Regions from separate parts of the Homo sapiens genome. Here regions 1, 3, 4, 5 and 6 are each linked to region 2. The links are contacts of gene promoters, found by promoter capture Hi-C in blood cells and fetal thymus (Javierre and others, 2016). All regions are on one chromosome and are shown on one strand. Each heading gives the region's core, a stretch centred on a gene start or on the middle of the fragment in contact. The rest is flanking DNA. Distances are from core to core; before and after follow the strand shown. Region 1 holds the start of TCHHL1 (trichohyalin like 1). Region 2 holds the start of CRNN (cornulin). Region 3 holds the start of LCE2C (late cornified envelope 2C). Region 4 has its middle 17 kb from the start of TCHH. Region 5 has its middle 11 kb from the start of RPTN. Region 6 has its middle 17 kb from the start of TCHHL1.

Region 1 (3,942 bases), core at 872-3,371, 330 kb after region 2:
TTTCATTTCTGAATCCTGACTCTGCCATTACCTAGTAAAGGTACATATCTGTAGGCAAATTGCTTAACAGCCTTAACTTCCTTATCTGTTAAAAGAGGATAATAACTACCTAAAAGGGCTGTGAGGATTAAGATAGCCCATGTAAAGCTCCTGACATGTCATAAGTTTTCAATAAACATTAATTCTTTTCTCTTCCACACCCATAAAAATCCTTCAAGTATTTGAAGACAGTTATTATGTCTCCCATAAGTGTTTCTTTCCAATCCAGCCTTGAATATACCCAGTTCTTCATGAGACTGGCCCATGAGCTCCAGAGCAGGAAGATATAACTTACTCAACTCTAAACACTCCAGTTCCTGGCATAGTGTTGAGAAATAGCTGGTACTCTGGGGATATTAACTAATCAGAACTAAGATGACCTTCACATGCCAATTCCAATTCCCAGAAGTCTTCTCCCTTTGGGAGGATGCTGAGAAATTGTTTGTAGGTGTAAAGTATCAGTATGAATGTTTTTCCCCAAAATTTAGTTCCCTTGTATGTTCCTCGATAATCAGGAAATTCAGAATAAGGTTTTTGCTCAATAGCAATGCATCCCTTAGCTTCAGCTTTCTCATATAATTACCCCCATTCCCACCCCATCTTTAACTTGGTCTGTGTCTTTTATATTTGTTTGCATTGATCTGTCTATTTCTTCCATCCTTTGACAAGGAGTGTTTTAAAACATACTCTATTTTTTAAAAATATCTAAGAAAACCATTGAATCTAATTCTTATTTTATTAAATATTCTCTACTAAGAAGGACCCAGATCTAGGAGACAATTAAAATGTTTGCCAGTTCAGCATCTCAGACTCACTTCTGTTCTCAGCTTGATGATTTCAACATCTCCCTTTCCCCTTTACAGGGAGAACACAGTAATATAGATTATTGGTTTCAAGCTCCTTGTATAGTAAAAATGTCTTTAGAAAGCAAATATCAATCACGTTTTTAAAATAGCACAACATAGGTAAGCAAGGCTTTGCACACCAAGCAAGAATTTTTTTTTTTTTCTAACTCTGCCTCTGGGCAAGGAGAGCAAAGCATTGAAACATCTGAATCAACTGGTATCTCCACTTTTGTCACATGGCTAAATGGGGGCCTTTATTTTTAAACACATGATTGACACCCATCTCTCAGGTTTGGGTCAAATACGGGCCATCTTGTGGGCAGACAGAGGAATCAGATGACTTATGAGGTCCCTGCCAGCACTATGATTTGTCAGACAGAAATGTAATTATGTCCTTAGGTTAAAAAATGGGGGAGGGAAGCCAACACTACCTTGAAGAGCCTTCAAAACTATAATCTGCAAAAGTCAGTAAATGAATCAAGAAACCCCCTCCCCTTTCTTTTGATGCATCTGAAGCTAAGATTTAATTGAAACTGCCTAAAGAAGGAAATAAAATTAAGACAACTGACAACAGAGCAGGGGAGACTGGATTTGGTGGTGATGTCAGGTCATTAGACCCAGAGGGTGTCTCCTTCTTAACTGTGCAATTAGGACCTCAATAAAAGGTTCCAGCTCCTGCTGTCAGCTCACAGCCCGCTGCCCCACGTTCTACCTGCTCTCGCTTGTGAACTAGGTAAGTCCATCTGCTTGAGCATACTTGGGATTTCAGTTGCTGTTTTGCTTATATGTGAGATTGCAAGAGGATTTCAAAGGAAACACACTTTAAGTCTATGTCAACCCCTATTAATAATAATAAACTGGGAGCGCCAACCACCCAAATGCATTCCTTGATTATGGAACTTCTTTGATCATTTTCTTTTTAAAAAAAACATAAATTGTTTAGAAGTCATAGGCATGAATATTATTCAACAAGGCACAGGATCAGATCTCTATTGCAATGAAAATGTAGAAGCATTTAAAGGATGGGAAATGAATGAATAAGGGGTCGGGACATGGAATCATGTCTTCTTGGTTAAAGCATGTTGTTACCACCTGCAAACATAGGGGTTAATTTTCTTGGTGTGACTTATCTTTCCACTAGAAGCTTTGCTAACTTTAAAGGTTATACCCTCCTAACCGCAGGAGGCTAGACTGAGCCAAAGGGAGAGGAGAGCAGATAGACACTCTTGGATGAGGCTGGAAGAATGGGTCCAACTCTATTGGCTTCATTTATGCATTTCAATCCTTATGCTTGAGTTCTCTTATCACCTTCCTTTTGCAATGAAGCTTTCTCTGAGCACATGAATGTTGCTGTTTACTGAAGAGTGGGGTGAATTGTCTCTTCTAATACTTACCTATGCTGGGTCTGATTTCACCACAATGTCTGGTACAATACTAAATCACCCCTGGAGTTCAGATATAATATTTTAAGATACAGAATAGAGCAGGGGTTGCAGTGGAGATGGGGGAGGAACAAAAAGGATAATCTTGGTATCTCCTCCCTGAAGGACCCATCCTGGAAAATGAGCTTTGTTTATTCTTTCTCACAGCCTCTCCTGAGTTTGTAAAGATGCCTCAGCTCCTGAGAAATGTCCTCTGTGTAATTGAGACATTCCACAAATATGCCAGTGAGGACAGTAACGGGGCAACACTGACTGGCAGAGAGCTGAAACAACTCATCCAGGGCGAGTTTGGGGACTTTTTTCAGGTGAGCTTCTCACAGAGCTGTGTAAATTCTTTCCAACTCACCCTTTCTTTATAATCCAAGCAAGATGAGCATATGTGATCCCCATCCATTTTACACCTAGCTAACAGTTCTCAGCACTCACTGTCTCTTGAACAACTATTTTCAGTCTCAGTTCCATACTCTGTGCAATTACTTAGAGAAAAAGAGGTTTTCGTCACTGGGATTATTGCTTCTGCAAAGCTGACTTCTGAAAGGAGTCATAAACCATTATGCATCAAAATGCAACTCACAAGTGTTGTAAATGCTCTTTCTCAGGCATAGCTCTCTGATGAAAAATGGCTTGCAGAACCAATAAGTTCTTGCTGTTCTGGGAAAGTTAACCAGTTACTGAGGAATGAGGTCAGAAAAATAGGATTCTTGGGAGACACTTAGGACACTGGACCACATATAAATAAGCTGATTTCTCACTGTGTTTTCATGCAGCCCTGTGTCCTTCATGCTGTGGAAAAAAATTCAAATCTTCTGAATATTGACAGTAATGGCATCATCAGTTTTGATGAATTTGTTCTTGCAATCTTCAACTTGTTGAACCTCTGTTATCTTGACATAAAATCATTACTAAGTTCTGAACTAAGACAGGTGACTAAACCAGAGAAGGAGAAGCTAGATGATGTGGATGTTCAGGCAACCACCGGAGATGGTCAGTGGACAGTGGGAACTTCACCAACTCAAGAAAAGAGGATGCTTCCTTCAGGAATGGCATCATCATCTCAGCTCATCCCTGAAGAAAGTGGAGCAGTTGGAAATAACAGAGTGGACCCATGGAGAGAAGCCAAGACTCACAACTTTCCAGGAGAAGCATCTGAACACAATGATCCTAAGAACAAACACCTGGAAGGAGATGAACAAAGTCAGGAAGTGGCTCAAGATATACAAACAACAGAAGACAATGAAGGCCAACTTAAGACAAATAAGCCAATGGCAGGATCAAAAAAGACCAGCAGTCCCACAGAGAGGAAGGGACAAGATAAGGAGATCTCCCAGGAAGGAGATGAACCAGCCAGAGAGCAAAGTGTTTCCAAGATAAGAGACCAGTTTGGAGAACAGGAAGGAAACTTGGCAACCCAAAGTTCACCACCAAAAGAAGCAACACAAAGACCATGTGAAGATCAGGAAGTTAGAACAGAAAAGGAAAAACACTCTAATATACAAGAACCACCCCTACAAAGAGAAGATGAGCCCAGTTCACAGCATGCTGACCTGCCAGAACAAGCTGCTGCCAGGTCACCATCTCAGACACAGAAATCAACTGATTCCAAGGATGTCTGTAGA
Region 2 (3,615 bases), core at 444-2,943:
CTGGAGGCTGTGCTGTTGCTACAGGGCTGCCCTCAATACACCAGTCTCTTCAACCAAGGCCCTTACCATGCCTTCCTATCCTGTTGTTCCCTTTCCTGTCTGTTGCATGCTGATCTATAAGTGAGGATGGTAAAGATGGCTTTCCCTTCCAGAGTCACTCAGGAAGCTACACAGTATATATTATCTGCAAAGTGCCACTCAAGAGCACTCTTTGGGACTTGGCTTCTGAGCTCAGAAAACTTCCTCCTCAGGAATGGTTCTTCATGCATTGAGGATAAGTGTGATGTTCATAAGGTGCCAAAACTCAATGAGAGAAGAATAAATGGCAGCATGGTGCAACAGAGAGAACACAGGCCTGGAGTCTGAGGGGCTCTAGTCCAGCACCGTCTCCGCTTCACAGAGTGGCTACTTCTCTGAGGATTTCTCAGTGTTCTCATTTATGAATTGGGCTTAGCCATACCACCTCAGAGGATTGCTAGGGAGATCAAATAAGATGAGATGGTAATGAAAATGGAATAAAATCAAATGAAATGAAATGGCAATACCATTATCATTAACCTCTTGGGGACTTACCCCTGGGATGGCCAGGCTATAGACTTCATGAGAGTTGAAACTGCTGCCATCGTATTCAACACTGTATTCCTAGGGCCTTAGCCCTCTGCCTGAAATGGAGCAAGCTTTCCATAAATATTTGCTGATTAGCCACCAGTTGAGTTTCCTGTCCTTGCAATGAGGAGTTACCACATGATCATGGTAAGCCTTTTTTCTCATCAGCTACAAAATGCTACCTACCCATAGCATGGGGTGGGGAAGGTATTAACTTTTTTTGTTTTAATTAAAAATGAGACCAACTTTAAAGAGATGAAACTGGCTTTCTTGTGTCTCATACACTAGGTGTGAAAGGCACTTACAAAACAAGAATTCAAAAAATGTTCTAAGTAATAACAGTTCTAAGTAACATCACCACAAAAACATGTGTGCCCTCTCAGAGTGGCTACTTTGTAAAAGTTAACCTCAATAGATATATTCTTGAACATTTATATTAAAAAAGGAAACAGTGGCCAGGCACGGTGGCTCACACCTATAATCCCAGCACTTTGGGAGGCAGAGGCAGGTGAATCATGAGGTCAGGAGTTCAAGATCAGCCTGTTCAACATGGTGAAACCCTGTCTCTACTAAAAATACAAAAATTAACTGGGCATGGTGGCAGGCACCTGTAATCCCAGCTACTCAGGAGTCTGAGGCAGGGAATTGCTTGAACCCAGGAGGCGGAGGTTGCAGTGAGCCAAGATCGCACCACTGCACTCCAGCCTGGGCGACAGAGCAGGACTCCATCTCAAAAAAAAAAAAAAAAAAAAAAGGAAAGAGTCCCATAACTTTGTAGGCTCATAGAGACAAAGAATGTTCACCAGGACCCCAGCCTGTACCAAGCACTGCTGAGCCCATCACAATGGAAAGAAGCTTCCCTGTCAAGAGGACTCAGCTACAGAAGGTACCAAATGTGGTAGGAGGGGCCTGTTAATTAGACCAAGGCAGTCACACATCAGCAGGTAAAACAGAGACAAGAGGAGGTGTGGCTGGGCTGGGCTGGATCTTGGATGAATCAAGCCTTCCCATAGGGCAGGATATCCTGTCTAAAACAAGAGCCTTGGTTAAAACCCCTATAAAAGGTTCTCATCACACTGACCTGGTACTCCTCACACCACTTAACAGCCACTTGTTTCATCCCACCTGGGCATTAGGTAAGTCCCCTCATAAGAAACCTCTTTCTCATTCTCAGTGTCTTGGTGATCTGAGCTCATAAAACTGGGGCAGTCAGGTATGGACTATGCATCCTTCAGAGCTAGCTGTGAGCACTGGGCAAACCAACGCTACCGTTGGGAAACATGCTCTCCTGAAGCAATCAGGCTTTCTCCTCCTCCCTGAGGCTGGCCTGGGAGCAGCTCCTCTCACTGGGAAACTGTGTGGGCAGCGGCTATGGGGCCACCCATGTGCCTTCCTGGATCAGCAAAGGTTTCTTTTTTCTAAGGCTCTGGAAGCTTCTTTGCAGTGCTGAGAGTCTATGGGATCAGAATCAGTTTACTTATGCCAACCTAGACAATAAGATCAAACTGTGTCATGGATGAAGGGGTTTACATGATTCCCCTCTCCTACACCAGGGTGATATTTAGGCAAAATATGTGTAGATTTTTCTAAGGAATCTAAAATGTAACTAAAAGGTCATCTTATTATTTTATTATCTAAAGGTCAGTGGTTAAAGTCTGCTACATGGTTTTAAAAAAAAAGAAAGATATTTTTCATCTATGTTGAGGAAAACATCCCCAGTTTTTTACCTTGATGAAAAGTTTGCCTGAAATTGTTGGTTACCAGGTCCTAGAAAGGGTTTCTCCTGAACAGCCCACCTTTTGCTATGACTTACTGAGTCCTCATGGCCACACTAATCTGCTTTTTCTAGAACTCAAGTCTCCTTCCTTCCTTTTTTCTCTTTCTTCTCCTACCTATATCTGCCTCGTCCCATCCTCTCTCTGGCTTTCCAGCTGCTACAGGCTCCATCTCCCCTTGCATTTGAGACTTGTCATCTTTGATACCATCTCCTCCTTTGGGTCTCTCCAAGGCTTCTGCTTAATGAATCTTCAAGTCTCTTTTCCTTTTGCTCATGCAACCAAACCCAGGCCTCACCTCAACCTACCTCTAGATTTCTGGCTAATGAAAAAGAAAAGCTTTCCCTTTGATTAGGAACCAACTCATAGGTCACCAGAAATCTGGGCCTGATGGAGCCACGTGCCTGTTGGGCAAGCTGACTTCTCTGATAAGTCTCAGGGCTGTGGACAGAGGCGACATGCAGAGAAACTTGGACCCTCAGAACTGGAAGGCCTCCCACCCAAAGAAGGTTCCCCCCTCCTGAGCATTCCCAGCAGGTGGTAGCCCAGTTTCTTCCCACTTTCCCAAAAAAAACAAGAAGGGAGGGCTGTGTCCCTGGAATTTCTGCTTGGCTCCCATCCAAGACAGGGGTTGACTCACAGATGTATTTACTTCCTTTTGGTGTTCCCGATGGGACCCTAACACCCTTGTGATAAATAAATAAATCCTGTCCACAGGGTACATTCTAGAAAGCCCATTGCATTTGGGTTAAGGAAAAATGGATCCTAGGATTTCTTGGCTCCTTAAAAATTGTGTGGCCTAACTTCTCTGAGCCTGTTTCCTCACCTATAAAAAAAAGTGGAAATAATAAGGATTAGAAGAGATGATGTACAGGAAAGTGATTATATAGGTGTACAAAAATTATATGTGTGTATATGTATATAATAGCATAATAATTATATTTAATAAGGAGCACTTAATATAAGCCAGGCATCTGCCAAGTGCTTTTTATGAATTATGTCTTTAAATCTTCACAATAATCCCACAGAGTACTAATATCACCTTCAATTACAATGAGTAGTAAACTGAGGCATGGAGAGGCAAAGCAACTTGTCCCAGCTCACACCATACTTAAGTGGTGGGGCCAGCATTTAATCCTGACTCAGGAACCTGCCTCCATCCTGTGTGCTCCTCCTTCCCATACATAAGATGCATTATGTAGGAAAGGACAAAGGAAAACTAAAAACAGAGCTG
Region 3 (3,655 bases), core at 715-3,214, 260 kb before region 2:
AGGAGGAAAGGTCTATTCTTTCATACAGCGTTTTGTATTCTTTGTATTCTTATGTTCCTTATATTCTTTGTATCTTCTAAGCAACACTTCCATGTTTTTTCACTTAATATCTCCATCACTCATCACTCCCCTGCCCAGCACGTGAGCCAAGTGGCAGGACAGCATCCTGGGACTCAGATCTAACACTGTGAGGAACTGAAGCCAGGTGTCCAAGGCAGCAAGTCAAAAGGCTGATCTTAACCAGACTCATGAAAAGAAGCTGAGTGACCATGGGCTGTACTTTACAGGAGGAAGGGTCTCAACATCTGTTTCAAGCATTTTATCCAACTATTGATTCTAAGGGCAGGAAAGTTTTGCTTCATAGGGATGTGTTCTTCTCCCTAGAGAAGAACAAGTCTGCAGAGCTTCCCAACCTTCCCAACGTCTGGATTACACAGAAAATTAGAACATGTGTCTGGCTTAGTGGAGAGAAAGGCAAAGCTACCATAGCCAGAGGTGACCCTCTTGGAGCTCCATTCACTCAGCATCTGGGGGAATCAGTTCCTCAGAGCAGCTTTTCATGTATCACCTACTCATGTCCTGTCCTAGCCTCATGAAGAAAATTACTCTGAGGCCCTGACCTTTGGAGGACATTTGAAATCTCAGAAGAGAAGAGAATGACCAAGACATTTAGTGAGTCAGAGATCAGAGCTTTATTATAACATGAGGTAAAGGAGGAAAAGAAGACTTGCAATTGGGGTGTTACATCAAGCACGAAGTTCTTCCAGGAAAGCCCCATGAGTCTTTGTGGTCTCTGCCAACCAATGAATGGAATGAGAGGAAGTGGAAAGAGTATCCATCAGGCCGTAGCAGGTTCTTGGCCATTCAGTCCCAAGAGCTCTTCTGTAGCCCAGGTCAGCAGCAGCCCCCAGAGCTGTGGCAGCAGCCAGAGCCCCCAGAAGGTTCACTCTCACAGCAGTCGGGGCTCTGGTGCCGGCGCCGGTGGAAGAGACGGGGCCTGTGGTGGCTCAGGGAGCAGCCACCAGCCCCAGAGCTGCAGCAGCCCCCAGAGCTGGGACCACAGCAGCTCCCAGAGCTGGGACCACAGCAAGAAGAGACTGCAGGGAAACATGGAGCTGGGCACTGTGGTGGGCATTTGGGGGGACACTTAGGTGGACATTTTGGGGTACACTTGGGAGGACACTTGGGAGGGGGCTGGCACTGCTGCTGGTTTTGCTGGCAAGACATGCTGGCAGGAGTTTAGTCAACCTGAAAGATAATAATGAAACTCTTTAAATATTTCAAACCAAGGATCATATTATACCTCTTCTAAAATCAATGCATGTGTAGAAGAAGAATGATATTTAGATAATACAATCACATCAGTAACCTGAAAGAAACAACTTGAATCTTTCCTCTAGATAAAAGTACGTAGATAAAAAATCAACAGAATGAGCTTCTTACTCTTCCTTTCAGGGGAAACTGCGATTGCTCTATCCTCACAAGCCCGAATAGAGTATTCACAGCTCCCTGAAGTACCTATTCCTTTAATACAAGCCCTAAGGACAAGCTGGGTGTTGCAGGACATACCAAGGGGTCCTCTGGAAAATATTTTGCAATGAAACCTCCAGATAAAAGAGCCTGGCTTGAAGTATTTGCCAGTTTCCATGGTGTAAATATGCCCAACACAGCAGTTTTGAAGTTACCAACATGAAGTCACTGAACACAGAATTGGAAAAGATGTGCACAGTTAGCTTTCCCCACCTATATGAGCTCCGGTAGGCCTCAGAGCCTCAACAGATTCGAGGCAGGCTGAGTCCCATTCCTGCTCAGTATGGCAGAACACAAGCACACAACTCTTTCTCCAGCCTACCTCCATCCTCCCCATCCCTCTGCCTTGCTCATACCCCTCTGGTATCCCAGGTTGCCACTCACCCTGGTCACACGCAGGAGCACAGACACGTCCCTGGGGAGTCAGAGCAGATGAGATGCTGAAGCTGGATGTGTCTTTTATAGGGCCCAGGCTTGGCTCTGGAAAGAGCAGGAGGTGGCTCTTGCACAACCAGGCACACGCTGGGTCATTCCTGACATTCTCCTGCCTCTTAGTCCCTGCAATCCAAAGAGGCCTCAGGAGCTTCCAGGACTCCTCTCTGGGGCTGCAGTCTAGAGAGGCTGTAGCCAGTCAGAGCCTCCACCAGGTGGGAACCCTAAAGAGTTAACTTAGGGTACCCAAGGGACCCACACCTGGACAAGATTCTGTTCCCTGCATTTTTTTAATGCATGTCCTCTGAGGAAACATCAGTTCTGAGCCACAGCTTTCCCTGACCTTGTGGAAATGTTCCATTATGACTCCCTCCACCCTGAGCAGTTTCTCTTCCATGTCCTGCTGTGGATCCAGCCATCCCAGAGGGCTTCTACAGCCTTGGCTTTTTCTAGGCATCCCTCCCTTGCCTAGGCTCTCAGCCCTTCCTCCTGGCCTCTGTGTTTCTGCTTTTCCTCCGACTCACCATGGCAAGCAGATTCGGTGGATTAAATCTGAGTTGATTCTGTCACCTAAAGCAAGGAGAATGATTGAGAATAAACAATTCCCTCTAAAATCTAAACATTTCCTTCAGTCAGAGGACTTGTATTGAATGTGCTACTGGAATCAGAAAACTTGCATATGATAACTGGGTAATCTCTGAAAGTTGCTGTAACAATTATCAATAATTGCTAGAGTATTACTATGATACTCACTGTGAGTATCAGTTCTCACATATAATGCCCATTATAAACCTATCAGTGAGATATACCTATCTCACTGAGCTGTTTGTAATATAAAGTGAGAAGCAAGAAAGAGCTAAGTATGACATTTTGTGCCTGATAGACCCTTAATAAATATATGTTTAATAGAAAAACTAATGCCATGTATTGGATACTTGCCCCGGTCTTATGTGTCATTAATTGCCCATATAGAGCCCTTACCCTCAGAGAGCTTAACTCCACCAGACACTTAGATTATTTGAAACCTGTCTTGGGAAGTAGACATCATTTCTTGGGGCTCCTATGCAGAGGGAACTCCTTTCCTACCAGGAAGTAGAGGGTCAGCCAGGAATCTAGTTATTCAGAGTTCTGATTCAGGGTTGCACTAGACAGAGTTACCCAGTCATTTATTCATTTAGTTTAAACAGATACATTGAGTGTGAACCTTGAAAACATTACACTACGTGAAAGAAGCCAGTCACAAAAGACTGCATATTGTATGATGTTATTTATATGAAATGTGTAGAGTAGGCAAATCTCTGGAAATAGAAAGGGGATGAGGCTTTAGCCAGTTACAGCCTCTCCCAGGCTGGACCCCTGAAGAGCTGACTCAGGGCATCCGAGGAACAAGAGCCTGGATGAGATTCTGTTCCCTGTATCTCCTTTTATGTTTATGCCTGTCCTCTGAGAAATATCAGTGGCTTCCAGGTGCTTTAGCGGGCTGGGAGATATTGAGAAGTTACTGCCAATGGATACAGGTTTTCTTTGTGAAGTAATGAAAATGTTCTAAAATTATGGTGGTGATTGTCCAACTCTGTGAATATACTGAAAACCATTGAATTTACACTTTAAACAAATGAACTACAAATATGTTAATTACATCTCAATAAAGGTGTTAAAAATTAGAATTGAAAAAAATAGATATTCACACCTC
Region 4 (3,602 bases), core at 681-3,180, 280 kb after region 2:
TTCACTATATTCTTACCTTTATAATAAGTTTTACACTTTCATATGTTTTCCTATTGTTAGTTAGTGTCCTTTAATTTCAACTTGAAGAACTCCCTTAAACTTTTTTGTAAGGTAAGTCTAGTGGTAATAAAGTTCCTCAAATTTGTTTGTCTGAGAAAGTATTTTCTGCTTCTTCCTTTCTGAAGGACAGCTTTTTTTGGGCATGATATTCTTGGTTAGTAATTTTTTTTCTTTCTTCACATTGAATATATCATCATATTCTCTCATGGTCAATAAGATTTCTGCTGAGAAATGTACTGATAGTCTTAAGGAAGTTCCTTTGTAAGTTGCTTTCTCTTGCTGCTTTCAAAAGTCTATTTGCCTAACTTTTGAGGATTTTATTACAATGTGTTTTAGTGAAGATCTGTTTATGTTTAATCTGTTTGGAGTTGTTTGGGCTTCATATATGTGAATAGTCATTTCCCTACCCAGATTTGGGAAGTTTTCTGTTGTTATTTCTTTTTTTTTTTTTTTTTTTTGAGATGAGGTCTCACTCTGTCACCCAGGTTGGAGTACAGTGCTGTGATCCTGGCTCACTGCAGCCTCCACCTCTCAGGCTGAAGTGATCTTCCCACCTCAGCCTCCCAAGTAGCTGGGACTACAGGTCCATGCCACCACACCCAGCTAATTTTTTGTATGTTTGATAGAGACTGGGTTTCACCACATTTCCCAGGCTGGTCTCAAACTCCTGAGCTCAGGCAATCCCCCTACCTTGGCCTCCCAAAATGCTGGGATTACAGGCATCAGCCACTGTGCCTGGCTTGTTGTTATTTCTTTAAATAGGCTTTCTTCTCCCATTCTCTTTATCTGCTCCTTCTGGGAATCCTATGATGGATAAATTGCCTCACTTGATAGTGTCCTATAAGTTGCACAGGATTTCTTCACCATTTTTTATTAATTTTTCTTTTTGTTCCTCTGATTATGTAATTTCAAATAACTTGTCTTCAGGCTTGCTAATTCTTCTGCTTGATTGACTCTACTTTTGAAATTTCCTATTGAATTTTTTAGCTCAATCATTGTGTTCCTTAGCTCCAGAATTTCTGTTTGGGTCTTATACATGGTTTCTATCTCTTTGCTAAAATTTTCACTTTGTTAATGTGTTACTTTTCTAATTTCATTTAGTTGTCCATCTGTGTTCTTTTGTAGCTCACTGAGCTTAAGATAATCATTTTTTAATTCTCATGGTTATTTTTAAATCTATGAACTGTCTGGCAGTTAATAGATTTCCATTTCTTTGGGATTATTTGTTAGTGCCTTATTTTGTTCCTGTTGTTGTGTCATGTTTCCCCAATTATTCATGATCTCTGTGGACTTTGCGTCAATGTCCACACATTTGAAGAATTAGGCACCTTTTTCAGTCTTTGCAGACTGGATTTTGCAGAGAAAGCTCTTCATCAGTCAGCCCATCTAGAAATTTGGGGTGACCCAGCTGGCAGGGTCCTTGGGTAGGCTTAATGCTGGAGTCCTCTGGTGGGCTACGCTGGTGTGTGGGTCAGTGGGCATGTGGGTCCTGGTGCCTGCATCCACTAGGGCATGACTAGAGTTTGGATACACATGGGCAAGTCTGGCACCTATGTTTGCAGAAGCCAGCCTGGAACCTGGATCCTTTGCGTCTGACTTGGTGCCGGCATAGGTCTTTGACCTGAGTCCACAGGGATAGGACTGAAGCCTGGGTTCCTGGGGACCAGCCTGGAACCTGAGTCTGTAGGTGCTTAGCCGAGAGTCTGGGACCATGAGGGCTGGCCTAGCACTGGGGTGCATCTGGTGCCTGGGTATAAAGGAGCATGTCTGGAGCCTGGTTCCATAAGCAGTGACCTGGCACTGGGCAGGCCTGGAGCTTGGGTTTGCAAGAGCCAGCCTGGAGTTTATGTCTGCAGGGGCTAAACTTCTCCTTGGGCCCATGGAGGTTGCCCTGGTACTGAGGTCCATGGCAAAGTCAATTCCTCCTTTCATTCTCCTTCCCTCATACGAAGGGTATCTCTCCATACAGTGCTGCACAGGCTTGGGTAAGGGATGACATGATTAATGTGAAACTGTCCCTTCTACCCTCTCCAATGTGTCTTTTCTTATTTCTGCACTGCATCCAAGTGTTATAATCTCTAATTTGGATTCCTTAGCTTTTAAGAAGTTATCTTCATGTGTGGATGATTGTTCAATGGGTGTCTGTGAGAAGATGAGTGCTGGAAGCTCTTATTCTTCCATCTTGCTGATGTCATTCTCCCACATATGTAGCTTTTTACATTCTCAAAACTCATATCAATCCTTAAAAGTTGTTATTGCTATGAACATCTTATAGATACAGAAACTAATGCACTTTAGTGACTTCCTCAAGATGTTCCAGCTTATTAACATGTAGCAGAACCAGGACTTGAACTCAAATCTTCAGAGTCTAAGTCCAGGACTCTTGGCACTGTCTCACAGCTGGGCCATTTTTTACATAGAACTAAATGCATAAGGGAGTATCTAAAGGAGAGTAATTAGAATTGGGTAAAATTGATCAGATATTTCTTAGAGGAGGAGATTTTGAGCCAAACCTTAAGTATGGGCTAAATGTGGATTGACATCCTCAAGAAGGGCAGGAATCCTAAGCATCAGGAGTAGTTTGAGCAGAGACACAGATGAGCATCTACCAAGTTAAAGGCAGGAAAAAGCAAACAGAATAGGTGGCTACAGGAAAGAGCCATGTTAAGGAGTAACTGAAGATTGATTAGAAGAGCACTGCTCATTGCTTTCTTCTTGACTTCTCACACCCTTAGTGTCAGTAATGCTACCTTCTCTCTAGGCTCTCCTATCCCTCTGGAAATGTCTTATGCTTCTCCCTCATTTAGTCACCTTTAATGAGGCATTTCCTGCTCCTTTCAATCGAGTGCTTCTCAACTCTCACTGCCACTTTATCATCTGGAGAGTTCTGAAACACTGGTGCTTGGGTTCTATTCCTAGAAATTCTAATTTTATAGGTCGGTGGTGTGACCTTGGAAATCTGGATTTTTAGAAGTTCCCCAGGTGGTTCTAACACACAGCTAAAGGTGAGAACCACTGACCTACACACTTCCTCTGGTCAATCTCATCTTCTTATCACATTCCTCCTAATGGCTTCCAAATCTATATCTCCAGCCCAGATTTCTCTCCTTAGTTTCAGATCTAGATATCCTACTACCTCCTGGATCCCTTTACCAAAGTGTCTCACAAGCATCTTAAACTCAATATGCACAAAATTGAACACCTCCTTCTATATCCTTCTACCTGTATACAATCCTACTGTCTTCCCAGCTGCTCGAGCCAAAACCCCAGACTTCCCAATTATTTCCTCTTCGTTACCTTCTATATCCAATATGTCAGCAATCCCTGTGGGTTTCTATTTCTTAAAGATTTCCAATTCAAATGCTTTTTTCTCAGCCCAACTGCAAATATCTTAGTTCAACCCTCCATTTCTCACCTATTTTACTACAAAGGATTCCTAAGTGACTTCACTGTACCCTACCTTGCCCTCCATCAACCCATTCTCAATGCTACTGCTACAAAGACCTTTCTAAAATGCAAATCTGATTATGTCATCATCTCCT
Region 5 (3,854 bases), core at 635-3,134, 270 kb after region 2:
AGGTCCAATATTCAATATCTATAAGGAACTTAAATCAACAAGAGAAAAACAAATAACCCTATTAAAAAATGGGCAAAGGACTTGAGAAACACTTTTCAAAAGAAAACATACAAGCAGCCAGCCAACAAACATGAAAAAATGCTCATCATTAATCATCAGAGAAATGCAAATCAAAACCACAATAAGATACAATCTCACACCAGTCAGAATGGCTATTATTAAAAAGTCAACAAATAACTGATGCTGGCAAGGCTGTGGAGAAAAGAGAATACTTATACACTGTTGTTGGAATATAAATTAATTCAACCACCATGGTAAGCAGTTTGAAGATTTCTCAAAGAACTTAAAACAGAGCTATATCCCATTACTGGGTACATACCCAAAAGAAAATAAAGACTTCTACCAAAAAGACACATGCACTTATATGTTTATTGCAGCATTATTCACAATAGCAAAGACATGGAATCAACCTAGATTCCTATCAATGGTGGATTGGATAAAGAAAATATAGTACATATACACCATGGAATACTACACAGCCATAAAAAACGAACAAAATCATGTCCTTTGCAGCAATATGGATGCAGCTACAGGCCATTATTCTAAGCAAATTAATGCAGAAACAGAAAACAAAATACCACATGTTCTCACTTATAAGTGGGAGCTAAACACTGAGTACACATGGACATAAAGATGGGAACAATATACACTGGGGACCACTAGAGTGGGGAAGGAGGGAAATGAGTGTACATTGAAAAACTTCCTATTGGGTACTAAGCTCAACACCTGGATGATGGGATTCATACCCCAAACCTCACTGTCACGCAATATGTCTATGTAACAAACTTACACATGTACCCTCTAAAGCTAAAAATAAAAGCTGAAGAAAAAATTCCAAAGTTTAAAAATTCTAAAGTTTCTTAGAGATAAATACAGATGATATATACAAAAGTGATTTATAATCTGATCTCTCCTTGTTCATTTACTTGGTATGCATTATCTTTTCTTCTCCTACATTATTTTAATAGAAGCTTAACAAATACATTTTGATATGATTTGGGTATGTGTCTCTTCCAAATCTCACATTAAAGTGTGATCCCCAATGTTGGAGGTGGGGCCTAGTGGGCGGTATTTGGGTCATAGGGGCAGATTCTTCATGAATGTCTTGGTGATGTCCTTGTGGTAATGAGTGAGTTCTCACTCCATGAGGTCATGTGAGATCTGGTTGTTTAAAAGAGCCTGGGACCTCTTCCTTCTCTCTTTTGCTCTCTCTCCTGCCATGTGACATGCCTGTTTGCCCTTCACTTTCCACCATGACTAAAAGCTTCCTAATGCTTTCACCAGAAGTAGATGCTGGCATCACACTTCTTGTACAATCTGAAGAGCTATGATCCAAAATAAACCTCCTTTCTTTATAAATTACCCAGTCTTTTATTATTTCTTATAACAATGCAAAATGTACTAATACAGAAAATTGGTACTGAGAGTAGGGTGTTGCTATAAAGATACCTGAAGATGTGGAAACAGCTTTGGAACTGGGTAATGGGCAGATACTGGAAGAATTTGGAGGTCTCAGAAAAAGACAGGAAGATAAGGGAAAGTTTGGAACTTCTCCAAGACTTGCTAAGTGGTTGTGACCAAAATACTGATTGAAATATGAACAGTGAAGCCCAGGCTGATGAGGTCTCAGATGGAAATGAGAAACTTTTTGGGAACTGGAGCAAAGGTCACCCTTGTTACACTGTTACAAAGAGCTTGGCTGCTAGGGATCTAAGGAAGCATGAACTTAAGAGTGATGACATAGGGTATCTGGTAGAAGAAATTTCTAAGCAGCAAAGCATTCAAGATATGGTGTGGCTGCTTCTAACAGGCTATGATCAGATATGGGAGCAAAGAAGTGACTTAAAGTAGGAACTTGTAATTAAAAGGAAATCAGAGCATAAAAAATCAGAAAATTTGCTAGCTGGCCCTGTAGTACAGAAGGAAAGAGGCTTTTCAGGAGAGGAATCCGAGCAGGCTGCAGAGCAACCACTTGCTAAACAGATTTGAATGCCTAAATGGAAATAAATTGCTAATAGTCAACACCATGAGAAAAAAAGTCCCAAAGGCATCTGAGAAGTCTTCAGGACAGCTCCTCCCATCACAGGCCCAGAGGCCTAGGAGGAAAGAATGGTTTCAAAGGCCAGGCCCAGGACACTGCTGTGCCATGAAGCCTCAGGACACTGCTCCCTGCGTTCAGGCTGCTCTGGCTCCAACTGGGGCTCTAAGGGCCCCAGGTACAGCTTGGGCCCTGCTCCCGAGAGTGCAAGCCATAAGTCTTGGAGGTGTCCACATGGTGTTAAGCCTGCAGGTGCACAGAATGCAAGCATTAAGGAGGCTTGGCAGCTTCCACCTAGATTTCAGAGGATGTATGGGAAAGCCCAAGTGCCCAGGCAGAAGCTTGCCAGAGGTGCAGAGTCCCCACAGAGACACTCTACTAGAGAATATCCAAGGAGAAATATTGGGCTGGAGATCCCCAACATAGAGTCTGCACTGGGGCACTGCCTAGTGGAGCTGTGGGAAATGGGGCCACTGTCCTCCAGACCTGAAAGTGGTGGAGCCACCAGAAGCTTCCATTCTGAGCCTGGAAAAGCCACAGGCACTCAATTCTAACCCACAAGAGCAGTCACAGGGGCTGCACTCTGCAAAGCCACAGGTGCAGAGCTGCCCCAGGCCTTGGGAGCCTACCCTTTGCATCAGTGTGCCCTGGATGTAGGGCATGGAGTTAAGGATTATTTTGAAGTTTTAGGGTTTAATGCCTGCCCTACTGGGTTTCAGACTTTTGTGGGACCTATTGCCCCTTTTTTGGGCCAATTTCTCCCTTTTGGAGTGGGAATTTTTATTTATCTATTTATTTATTTATTTATTTATTTATTTGTTTATTTGTTTATTTTGAGATGGAGTCTCACCCTGTCACCCAGGCTGGAGTGCGGTGGCATGATCTTGGCTCACTGCAACCTCCACCTCCTGGGTTCAAGCAATTCTCCTGCCTCAGCCTCCTGAATTGCTGGGATTAAAGGCAAGCGCTACCACATCCAACTAATTTTTTATATCTTTAGTAGAGACAGAGTTTCATCATGTTGGCCAGGCTGGTCTCAAACTCCTGACCTTGTGATCCGCCTGTCTTGGCCTCCCAAAGTGCTGGGATTACAGACATGAGCCACCACACCCAGCCAAGGAGTGGGAATGTTTACCCAATGCCTATGCCACCATTATATCTTGGAAGTAAATAACTTGTTTTGTATCTTACAAGCTCATAGGTGAAACGAACTTGTCTTGAGTCTCATGAGAGACTTTGGACTTTGGACTTGATATTGGAATGAGTTAAGACTTTCTGGGGCTGTTGGGAAGAGAAGATTATATTTTTCAATGTGAGAAGAACACAAGATTTGGTGGGCTAGGGGTAAAATGGTATGATTTGGATGTCTGTCCCCTCCAAATTTCATGCTGAAATGTGATCCCCAATGTTGGAGGTGAAGCCTAGTGGGAGGTGTTTGGGTCACAGGAGCATATCCTTCATAAATGGCTTGGTGCCCTCCCAGGTAATGAATGAGTTCTCATTCTGTTACTTCATGTGAGAGCTGTTGTTTAAAGGAGACTGGCACCTCCTCCTCTTTCTCTTGCTCTCTCTCTTGCTATGTGGTGCACCTGTTCTCCCTTTGCCTTCTGCCATGATTGTAAGCTTCCTGAGGGTCTCACCAGAAAGAGAGTAGATGCTGGCACCATGCTGCTTGTACAGCCTGCAGAACCATGAGCCAAATAAGCCTCTTTTTTAAAATGAATTACCCAGTCTCAGGCACTCCTTTACAGCAACA
Region 6 (4,133 bases), core at 1,601-4,100, 340 kb after region 2:
GTCTCTCTGAAAGACTATAAGTAGTGGATAAAGACATACTTTGGTTTATATACAGTGATATATGTTTCTAGTTTTACAACCACTCTTAATGCCAGGAATATATTTGTCAGAATCTAGGTTAGGAAGGTGGAAGAAAGAGCCACGGACATTCAGACACCAGTCAGAGATATCACACCCTGCAAGGAGAACCCAGAATTTTACATAAGGACCCAAATGCATCTTCCAACAGCCACATCCACTCTGTCCTTAGAGTCAATCTACCTCATCAGGATTTGCCATCACTAATCAATCAGTCAATAAGCAGTTAATGACCACACACTGTGACTCCCCCATTGGCAACCTTTAGTTCTTTTTTGGAACAATAAACAAATAATCACTAATGGAACCCAGACGCATTTCAAGTGTTAAGTAGTTAAGAAGAAGAACAAAATTTGATTTCTACCCCCAAGTAGCTCACAATATAATTAAGACAAGACCTGCTCATGAAACAACTGGAGAGCACACAACTCAGGGCATGTATAAAGCTTCATCATCCAACTCCTGCCAAATGCCTCAGTGCAGGCCTGGCTGGGCATGGCACCCATAATCAGTGTAGAAACTTTTTTTTCAGGGGGGCAAAATATGGTAGTTAGAGTTGTTGATTTGTTTTTCAACAAATATTTACTACATGACTACCACCTGGTAAGCAATTTCTAGGTGTTGGGAATAAAGCGGTGAACAAAGCAGACCAAGTTCCCGCCCTCATGTTTCTACATTCTAATGGGGAAAATAGAAAATAAACAGATAGACAAACAATTGTATACTAACTCATGTGGGATAAATGTTAGGGAGAGTAAAAAGCAGAGTAGGAGGGTAGGGAGGGAGTCAGGGGAAGTGGGAGTGTTGCTGTTTAAGAGAGGAAGGTCAGATGACACCCGAACAGAGACCTGCAGAAGGTGAGAAAGGAAACCATGCACTTCAGAAAAGAGCACTTCACAGAGGAAACGGCACGTACTAAGGCCTGGAGATGGGCATGCCTAGCACATTCAAGGAACAACAAGGAGGATAGTATGGTAGGAATGTCATAAGCAATGATGGTGACAGTGGGAAAAGAGGAGGTCAGCGAAGTGTGGACCCAACCAAGTCACCAGGGAAGGCTCCCAGGAGAAGATGGAGCTTGGCCAGCAGGGATGGGCCTGGTTCCTCTCAGGCCGAAAGGACCAGCATTAACAAAGGCATGGAGGCAGGCGAGAGGGTGTGGTGCTCAGAGAGCCAGGAGTACAGTCAGTCCTATTCCAGATATGGGCAAACAGGAGAGAAGCCTGGATGGTGAGGAGGGCCTGTGATGGAGTCTCCTAAAAACAGCCATAAACCTTATTTCTTGAGGGCTTGTCAAAGCACTGAGATAGGAGTTGCAACCCCAGCACTGTCCTTTCCACAAGGACCCATCCTAGGCACCATTTTAAGGAAAGAAAGTAAAAATAGAGAAGAGAATTTGAAGAAAAGATGGAATTCTTCCATCACTATCGATATATGTCTGGGTGTGTATGTTGCCTAAAGGGGCCAGCAGGCTTCATGACAACATTAGGATTGTCCAGAACCTTCAGAAAATATCACATGCATTTCTTCCTGACCTCCACAAACCACTGAAGGAGAAACCGGGGAATGTTTCAGAGCCAACTCTGAGGGTGGCTGATGACACACAACTACCCCTGAAGGGACCCCCAAGAAGGTGGACAGGAGTTTCTTTGAGGTCCATGTCTGGGCAAGTGGAGCATGAGGATGAGGCTACCTGGAGGCTGAGACAGGGAGCTTGAGGCAGACAGGAAGCCTCTCAGGAGCAATGCTTCTTTGCTGAGCCCTTTAGATCAAGCTTAAAGCTCAGGCGTTTTTGTAAAGCCATGAGAATATTCTGGTTTCCACTGGGTGGGTTGAGGTGGTTTTGAAACACAGAATCTGAAACTTGCCCAGCCGAGTTACTAGCTCTATTTGAGTAAACTGCAGGACAATAATTTTTCTCAAACAAGCGTTTAGTTAACTGTTCCTCACCATTCCCCTCACTTCTCCATGATTCTATTCCAGGCCTGGGAGTGGTGTGGAATCAGATCAAGGAGTTCATGTGGTTTCTGGTCTCAAGAAGCATATGATCTGGCCCAGGAGATGAGGCTAAACCACAGAAGAAAACCATGTGGAGACTTGCGTACCATGTCCACCTTGGTTTTCTCTACTTCTAAAGACGGAAAAGCTCAGAAAGAAAAACACCAAACTGATAATGGTCATTGCCTCTGAGAAAAGTAAAAGGGAATCAGGAGAGACAGTAGTAGTCAAAGAAGTCTTAGATGTCATCAAGTAATGTTTCAATTTTTTCAAGGATCAGGAACGTATGTATTATTTGTGTATAAATAAAAATTACTTTGAGATCTATAATTACTTCCATATGTTTTAATCACAAACAAGAAAATCATACCCCATACTGATTTGGGTCTTACTTAAAATCCTTAACAATCATAGTTTCAGAAAAAGGTCCTGATACATAAGGAAAATCAGTTAAATGTTAACATTCTTTGGCCACTGGGTTTATTATCTTCTTCTAAGAAAGACACAAGGGATGAGAATTTTCTGCTTTTTTCCATTTTCTGATCAAGAAAAGCTTGACTGAGCTGACCAAGAACATGTCAAGGATCTGAGAGTCCCCCGCCATGCCCCAGTTCATTCAGTTACATCCCTTCCTAATTGGGAACATGTTTAGGGGAGCCTACATTTCTGTAATTACTGGCCCCAGTGTATTTTTAAAAGCCTCATTCAGATGGAACAAATTCTTTGCATTTAATCATGCTGAACCTCATAATAAACATAATAACTGGGATTTGCACGGTGCTTTTCTTCAGAATGAGCTTAAAACACATTATAATCCAGTGCTTCCCTGAGCCACACCGTATCCTTATGACACATCCAAGAAATGGTGACCACTAGATCCCACTGCTGAGGCTCAGAGGGATTTGGTAAGATGCCTGAGGTCACAGAGCAGGCAAAGTCCAAATGTGCACTCAGGATAGCCACCCCAGCAGCAACTCCTCCAATCACCAAGCTTCTCCTACAGACAACTTGATGCCTTCAAATGACTCTGGCAGTCTCCTCTTATCTGTAATCATGGCTGTGGACACTTTCCAGGAAACTCCTCCCAGGCAGTGTCAAGACAAACCTTGACGCTGAGGGGCAAAGACCACGTCATCAGAAGAGTGTCACCACAGAAGTCATTCTGTCACCATTGCACATGGACTCTGGGTCAGAAAATGTCCTGTTTGTACAGGCAGTGTGGGTGGTAAGCATGGGCCCTGGCACCAAGCAGGCCTCCCCATTGTGTGACTATGGCAGGCTATCGCCTGGTGTGGACACACAGTAAGCGTCTCTTTCCCTTCTCATAGCAAGAACTGGATGCATTCATTTTCAATCTACTTGTCTTTTATTTTCCCTGATAGAAACTAATAAATTTTTAGGTAAAAGAACGAAAGGGAAGATCAAACTGAATGGAGACTTCAGGTCTGAAACAAATGGGGTGGGAATAGAGAGGTAGAAGAGACAGAGGTAAGAAAAGGCACACAAAGAAAGGGACAATGAGAAACAGAAAGAGATTGAAATGTTGAAAGGGGGGAAGACAAAAGGAAGACGGAAAAGAGAACAGAGAGAGACCATCAGAAAATGAGAAAGAGTGGAGAAAAGCAAGAAGGCCCAGGAATCAGATGAGCCAAACTCAGGAGAGACGGGCAGCAGACCAGGTGTGTCAGCAACAGCAGCCCGGAGACCACAGGCAAACCCAGAAGCTACAGGTCTGGCTGCCAAAGACGATTTACCAAGAGGGTGGGGAGACATTTGCACAAGGATAATTCCTCTCAAAAGCAAGGCTTTTCAAAGCAAGAATTATAATTATCTCTGTTACTCTTATTAATCACTCTAACGGCAACTAATGACCACACGGAGCCAGTTCATCAGGCTCCTGCCCTTTAGACACACAGGGAGAAAGACCTGCCTCCTCCTCCTTCAGTAGTCACCCATGCCTTGGGCTGTCTGAATACGGGCAAGAAAGAGTTTCCTACACAAATTCAAAAATAATGAAATATTATTGAGTCAAGTATCTAGAATATTTCCTCATAGAA

What was found. The method cuts DNA at HindIII sites, captures the fragments that hold promoters and counts their contacts. A CHiCAGO score of 5 or more calls a contact.
Region 1: a contact is called between a fragment that was not itself captured here and the fragment with the promoter of CRNN in region 2, in 11 of 17 cell types (erythroblasts, M1 macrophages, naive CD8 T cells and 8 more). The highest score is 7.8, in erythroblasts.
Region 3: a contact is called between the fragment with the promoter of LCE2C here and the fragment with the promoter of CRNN in region 2, in 3 of 17 cell types (erythroblasts, neutrophils and M0 macrophages). The highest score is 5.6, in erythroblasts.
Region 4: a contact is called between a fragment that was not itself captured here and the fragment with the promoter of CRNN in region 2, in 1 of 17 cell types (M2 macrophages). The highest score is 5.3, in M2 macrophages.
Region 5: a fragment that was not itself captured here is called in contact with the fragment with the promoter of CRNN in region 2 in 1 of 17 cell types (non-activated CD4 T cells); the score reaches 5.4 in non-activated CD4 T cells.
Region 6: a fragment that was not itself captured here is called in contact with the fragment with the promoter of CRNN in region 2 in 2 of 17 cell types (endothelial precursors and total CD4 T cells); the score reaches 6.2 in endothelial precursors.

What each region holds. Positions count from the first base shown.
Region 1 is chr1:152,086,695-152,090,636 of GRCh38, reverse strand. It overlaps TCHHL1 (trichohyalin like 1), which reads left to right and starts at 1,573. Exons shown (of 3, transcript NM_001008536.2): 1 at 1,573-1,617; 2 at 2,474-2,631; 3 at 3,094-3,942. The coding sequence starts at 2,494. The HindIII fragment of the contact is 182 bases long and covers 2,031-2,212 here.
Region 2 is chr1:152,412,341-152,415,955 of GRCh38, reverse strand. It overlaps CRNN (cornulin), which reads left to right and starts at 1,693. Exons shown (of 3, transcript NM_016190.3): 1 at 1,693-1,742. The HindIII fragment of the contact is 578 bases long and covers 1,464-2,041 here.
Region 3 is chr1:152,673,588-152,677,242 of GRCh38, reverse strand. LCE2C (late cornified envelope 2C) reads right to left here and starts at 1,964. Exons shown (of 2, transcript NM_178429.5): 1 at 1,915-1,964; 2 at 674-1,248. The coding sequence starts at 1,227. The coding sequence ends at 895. The HindIII fragment of the contact is 8,836 bases long and covers 1-3,655 here.
Region 4 is chr1:152,130,391-152,133,992 of GRCh38, reverse strand. No RefSeq gene overlaps it. Among named protein-coding and RNA genes, the nearest start is that of TCHH, 17 kb to the right of the region's middle. The HindIII fragment of the contact is 4,357 bases long and covers 1-3,602 here.
Region 5 is chr1:152,146,565-152,150,418 of GRCh38, reverse strand. No RefSeq gene overlaps it. Among named protein-coding and RNA genes, the nearest start is that of RPTN, 11 kb to the left of the region's middle. The HindIII fragment of the contact is 1,115 bases long and covers 1,327-2,441 here.
Region 6 is chr1:152,070,284-152,074,416 of GRCh38, reverse strand. No RefSeq gene overlaps it. Among named protein-coding and RNA genes, the nearest start is that of TCHHL1, 17 kb to the left of the region's middle. The HindIII fragment of the contact is 438 bases long and covers 2,632-3,069 here.